Linked DNA regions of Homo sapiens: region 1 is linked to region 2. Evidence: promoter capture Hi-C in human tissues and cell types (Jung and others, 2019). All regions are on one chromosome and are shown on one strand. The core of a region is centred on a gene start or on the middle of the fragment in contact, and the rest is flanking DNA. Distances in the headings are between cores, read along the strand shown. Region 1 overlaps IFT88 (intraflagellar transport 88). Region 2 holds the start of IFT88 (intraflagellar transport 88).

Region 1 (2,829 bases), core at 118-2,617, 46 kb before region 2:
GTGCAACAAGCACCACAATCACTTTTGAAACATTTTCATCATCCCAAAAAGAAACATAATATCCATTAGCAGACACTCCCTGGCAAATCTTTATAGATTTGCCTAATTTATACCTTTCATATAAACAGAATCATAAAACGTGGTCTTTTGTGACTGGCTTCTTTCATTTATCATGTTTTCAAGGTTCATCTGTATTGTATTGGTTGGTGCAAAAGCAATTGCATTCAATGGGAAAAATCGCAATTACTTTTGCACCAACCTAACAGCACGTATCAGTACTTCATTCCTTTGTATGGCTGAATCACATCCCATATTATGGATAGACCATATATTATTTATACCTTCATTAATTGTTGCACATTTGGATTATTTCTATTTTTCGATATTATGAATAATATCACTAAGAAAATCTGTATACAAGTTGTCATGTGGACATATACTCTGATTACTTTTGGGTAAATATCTAGACGTAAAATTGCTGGGTTATATGGTAAGTCTATGCTTAACCTTTTGGGGCACTTGTATGCTGTTTTACAAAGCACCATTTTATACTCCTACCATCAGCATTTAAGAGTTCCAATTTCTCCACACTCTTACCAATACTTGTTATTTTCTTTTTTATTATAGCATACTAGTAGGTGTGAAGTAGTATCTCACTGCAGTTTTCAGCTGCATTTCCCTAGCAATTACTGAAGTTCAGCATCTTTTCATGTGTGTATTGGGCATCTGTGTATCTATTTTGAAGAAATATCTATTCATATCTTTTGCACATTTTTAATTGGGCTATTGGCCTTTTTATTATTGAGTTGGACATTACTTATATAGTCTAGAAATAAGTCCCCTCTCAGATACATCATTTGCAAATATTTTCTCCCATTCAGTAGGTCATTTTTTCACTCTCTGGATAGCGTCCTCTGAAGTACATAAGTTTTTAATTTTGATAACGTCCAATTTATCTATTTTTTTCTTATGTCACTTGTGCTTTTGGTGTCATATCTACAAAACCTTTGCTTAACCGACAGTCAATGATATTTCTCTTCTTTTTCTAACAATTTTATAGTTTTAGCTCTTACATTTAGGTCTATAGTTCATTTTAGTTAATTTTTGTGTATGGTGTGAAAGAGATGTACAACTTCATTCTTTTGCAAGAGAATATCCACTTTTCCCAGCACAATTTGTTGAAAAGACTCTCCTTTCTTCTCTTAAATTTTCCTGGCACCTCCACTGGCTATAAACGTAAGAGTTTTTTCCTTGTCTCTCAATTCCATTCCATTCATTTATGCCTCTGTCTTCACAGTGTCTTCATCAATGTTGCTTTCTAGTTTGAGTCCCAACTTTGCTTTTCTTTTTCAACACTGTTTGGGCCATTCTGGTTCCCTTCCATTTCCATATGAGTTTTAGGATCAATTTGTCACTTTCTGTAAAAATGTTGCTGGAATTTTGACAAGGGTGGCACTGAATCTGTACATTAATTTGGGGAGCACTGCCATTTTAATAACATTAAGTGCCTATCCATAAAAATACGACATAATTTATTTAGTATCTTTATATTCTTCCCATGTTTTATGGTTTTCAGAGTTTAGGTTTTGCATTTCTTTCATTAAATTTATTCCTAATAATTTTTATGCAATTATAAATGTTAATTTCATTTTTGGGATAATTCATGGGTAGTGTATAGTGTATTTCTTCTTTTCTTCCTGAGGGGGTGCACAGTTCCTGGAGTTACTGCACTACCAGGTCAATGCATACAGCAGATGGAGCAAGGTCCTATTCAATCTCCCTGCTCCAAAAATCCATTTAACAGATTGTCCTTGGATAGCGGAAGCATCAGATATACAAATACTACACTTCATCTCAGCCACACGGCTGAGAAGATATTAATATATTTCTGCACTACACTATTGATTTTTGTATATTGATTTTTTTTTACTCTACAACCTCATTTATTCTAACAGTTTTAAAGTTGATTCCTTAGGATTTTCTATGTACAAGATCATGTCATCTGAAAAAAGATGGTTTAAACTGTTCCTTTCTAATCTGGATGTCTTTAACTCCAGTTTTAAGTTTATTTGTTTTGCAAACTGCCAAAGATAGAATCTTCCAGTTCAATGATGAACAGAACTGGTGAAAGTGGGCCGGGTGCGGTGGCTCATGCCTGTAATCCCAGCAATTTGGGAGGCCAAGGTGGGTGGATCACCTGAGGTCAGGAGTTCAAGACCAGCCTGGCCAACACGGTGAAACCTTATGTCTACTAAAAATACAAAAAATTAGCCGGGCATGGTGGCAGGCGCCTGTAGTCCCAGCTACTCAGGAGGCTGAGGCAGGGGAATCGCTCGAACCCAGGAGGCGGAGGTTGCAGTGAGCTGAGATTGTGCCATTGCACTCCAGCCTGGGCAACAGAGCAAGATTCCATCTCAGAAAACAAAACAAAACAAAAAACTGGTAAAAGTCGGATATCCCTATCTTGTTCCTGATCTTAGGTGCAAAGCATTCAGTCTTTTTTTTTTTTTTTTTTTTTTTTTTTGAGACTGGGTCATGCTCTGTCTCCCAGGCTGGGGTGCAGTGGCACAATTTTGGCTCACTGCAACCTCCACCTCCCAGGCTCAAGCAATTCTCCCAAATAACTGGGACTACAGTGCATATCACCATGTCTGACTAATTTTTGTATTTTTTTGTAGAGACAGAGTTTTGCCATGTTGCCCAGGCTAGCATTTAGTCTCTTTCCATTAAGTATGATGTTAGCCGTGAGTTTGTCACAGATGTACTTTATCAAATTGGGGAACTTCCTTTCTACTTGTTTCTTGTTGGACTTTTTGTTTTTAATCTTGA
Region 2 (2,845 bases), core at 103-2,602:
CTTTTAGAATGAGAAATCCTTTCTGCTAGGTTGTAACCAGATTTTTAAAAGGTTTGACTTGAGACTTTAGTTGAATAGACATCTTGTGGAACATACAAATATTAAAAGATGTGGAAAGTGAGGCCAGGAAAGTTGAAGGGAATCAAGCATGGCTAATAGCTATGGGTGGCAGAACAACTGTTGTTATACAACCCAGGGTTTCTGGATTCTCCAGGCAATTTCCAAAGCAGCTTATACATGTAACAAACTTTTCCATGTTGAAATAATCTGGGGATGATGCCACCTATGTTTAATATAAATCAAATGCTGGCAAAACCTTTTTTTTTTTTAAGTGAAAGGTATGTTTTTTAATACTCTTCTACTGACTATGGACAGTCTACTTCAAGCTTTTCCAACCCCGGCCCGCACGTGGCACAGGACGGCTTTGAATGTGGCCCAACACAAATTCGTAAACTTTCTGGAAGCATTATGAGATTCTTTTTTGCGATTTTTTTTAAAGCTCATCGGCTACCTTAGTGTTTGTGAATTTCATGTGTGGCCCAAGACAATTCTTCTTCCGATGTGGCCCAGGGAAGCCAAAGATTGGACACCCTTGGTCTACTTCCAAGAAGCCTACTGCAGTTTCTCGAAAAAAAAAAAACAAACAAAAAAAACTCACAACCAGAAAATCGGACTAGTAAAAGTGTAATTTTAGGCTTAGAAAGAATCTTGGGACAACAGTACTTCACGTTTTTGGAATGTTTCCATCTTTGTGAGGCTAAGTACCGCTTTCTGCATTGTTGTGTACTTTTATCTTCATTCCTGATTCAACTTTCATCAGGCAATTTGAAGTGCTTCACCTAACAAGAAAATTAAAGAGCGATGTGCACCATCTCTGCTGTGCGATTCCAGAGCTGGCGCAGTAATCTAACTGGGTTTTAAGTTTCCCCGTCAGGCGTGACTGGGACTTGGGACATCGCCAAGCGGTCAGCGACGCCCGTCCCAGTTCAGAGGAGCAAGAAAAGCCTGTGAGCTGGGGACACCGATGTGAGAAACAACGCCCGCGTTTCTGAGTAGACAACTCGGGAGCCTGAGGAAGAAAAGCAGGGGCAGGCCGAGTCCATCTGGGGCCCCGCCTCAGACCGCCCCGGGGCCGACAGGGGCGGGCAGGAGACGGGCGAAGAGGCCCTCGGCGGGATGCGCCACACAGGACGCCGCAGGGGCACGGCTGCCAGGGGCCCTGAGGCACTAGGCCCCAGCGCCCTTCTCCTACCTCACGCTGAGGGAAGCGGGCGACAGTTATTCGGGCCCAGGGACGACGCAGCGGTTGGCCAAAGCGCGACGCCGAGCCGTTGCCAAGCGCGGAATCCAAGGAAGCCGCTCCCACAGTCCTCCGCGCGGGGGCGGGCGGGGCCGGAAGCGCGGGGGCGGGAGAGAGCGCGGCGGGAAGGGGGTGGTGCGGGAGGCCTGGGGAAGTGGGTGGGGGCGGAGAACGGCGGGTCAGAGAGAAGGCAGCCCGGTCCCCCTCAGTGGAAGGGAGTGGCGGTGGGCGGAGGGTGTTGAGGGGACGGTGCCAGCGGCTTGCGGGAAGCCGGGCGATGCGGGTAGAACGGTGGAGGAGAGGGCAGGGAGGCCGGGGCCTCCCGTGGAACGGAACCGGGGGGTTGGGAGGCTGGGGGCGGCCTGTGTGAAGGGGGCGGGGAGGGAAAGGCTCGCGGCCAGTAGATGCAGGAGGGAGGAGGGCCTAGAGGGGCTCCGGGCTGGCGGCCTCTGTGAGGAAGGGGAAGGATATGGAACCAAGATCCTTTAAATCCTGATGAACTCATCCGTAAAGCAGATGCCCAAAGGATGATAGTAAGCTTACTGTGACATAACTCCCGGAGCCGCAGCACGAGCCTTGTGAACCTTGGAAGCCCGTTTTCCGCGCAGTCACTAACTCGCTTAGTCACCCTGTGTAAAAGTTATTCTGGGATGACACCTGCCTGGGAAGTCTCACCTTTCCCCCCACCTCCTCCTGTCTGCGTATTGTTCTGTAGCACCCCGTGCGCACCTTGATTGTAGCGCTTAAGGTGTCCGTTTTATTTACTAGACAGGGATTGAACCATTGTGTCCCAACCACCTAGAACCTGGGTCATAGTGTAAAGCTTAATCAATGTAATATAAATGGGGGAATTAAATTCATAATTGTTTAATGTTTAAGTTTTGTCTTAAATTTTAAAAGTAAATGTTGGGGATGGAGGGGAGGGACAGAGGGAGTCTAAAGACACCAGTAATTAATGAGTTTTTATAAAATAAGTAGTGTTGGCCGGGCGCAGTGGCTCATGCCTATAATCCCAGCACTTTGGGAGGCTGAGGCTGGCGGATCACCTGAGGTGAGGAGTTGGAGACCAGCCTGGCCAACGTGGTGAAACCCTGTCTCTACTAAAAATACAAAAATTAGCCCGGCGAGGTGGCAGGCGCCTGTAATAAATCCCAGCTACTCAGGAGGCTAAGGCAGGAGAATCTCTTGAACCCAGGAGGTAGAGGTTGCAGTGAGCCAAGATGGTGGTATTGCACTCCAGCCTGGGTGACAAGAGCGAAACTCCATCCAAAAAAAGAAAAAACATAGTGTTGGGGGACAATTCTCCATGGGTCACCTGCACTTTCCCGTGTTTTGTGAGCAGAGACACTGACTGCCTTTGTTCTGGAGTACTATGATAGCTGGTATTTTTTAAGATGTGATTAACAGTTAAATTAGACTTGAGTAAAGCAGTTGGTCCTCCACAAGGTGGGTTGGCCTCATCCCGTCAAGGGAAGGTCATAAGAGAAAAGACTAAGGTCCTCTGAGGAAGAAGGAATCCTGCCCCCAGACTGCCTTCAGCTCTTT

What was found. The method cuts DNA at HindIII sites, captures the fragments that hold promoters and counts their contacts. A contact is called where the count stands out against the background at its distance.
Region 1: a fragment that was not itself captured here is called in contact with the fragment with the promoter of IFT88 in region 2 in 2 of the 25 tissues and cell types used here (hippocampus and mesenchymal stem cells).

What each region holds. Positions count from the first base shown.
Region 1 is chr13:20,611,210-20,614,038 of GRCh38, reverse strand. All of the region lies in intron 13 of IFT88 (intraflagellar transport 88), which reads right to left. It also overlaps the pseudogene RNU2-7P. Among named protein-coding and RNA genes, the nearest start is that of IFT88, 45 kb to the right of the region's middle. The HindIII fragment of the contact is 6,832 bases long and covers 1-2,829 here.
Region 2 is chr13:20,565,664-20,568,508 of GRCh38, reverse strand. IFT88 (intraflagellar transport 88) reads right to left here and starts at 1,352. Exons shown (of 26, transcript NM_006531.5): 1 at 1,253-1,352. LOC105370103 (a long non-coding RNA gene) reads left to right here and starts at 1,480. Exons shown (of 6, transcript XR_941725.3): 1 at 1,480-1,833. RefSeq lists silencers at 959-1,147, 1,243-1,652. The HindIII fragment of the contact is 1,600 bases long and covers 1,113-2,712 here.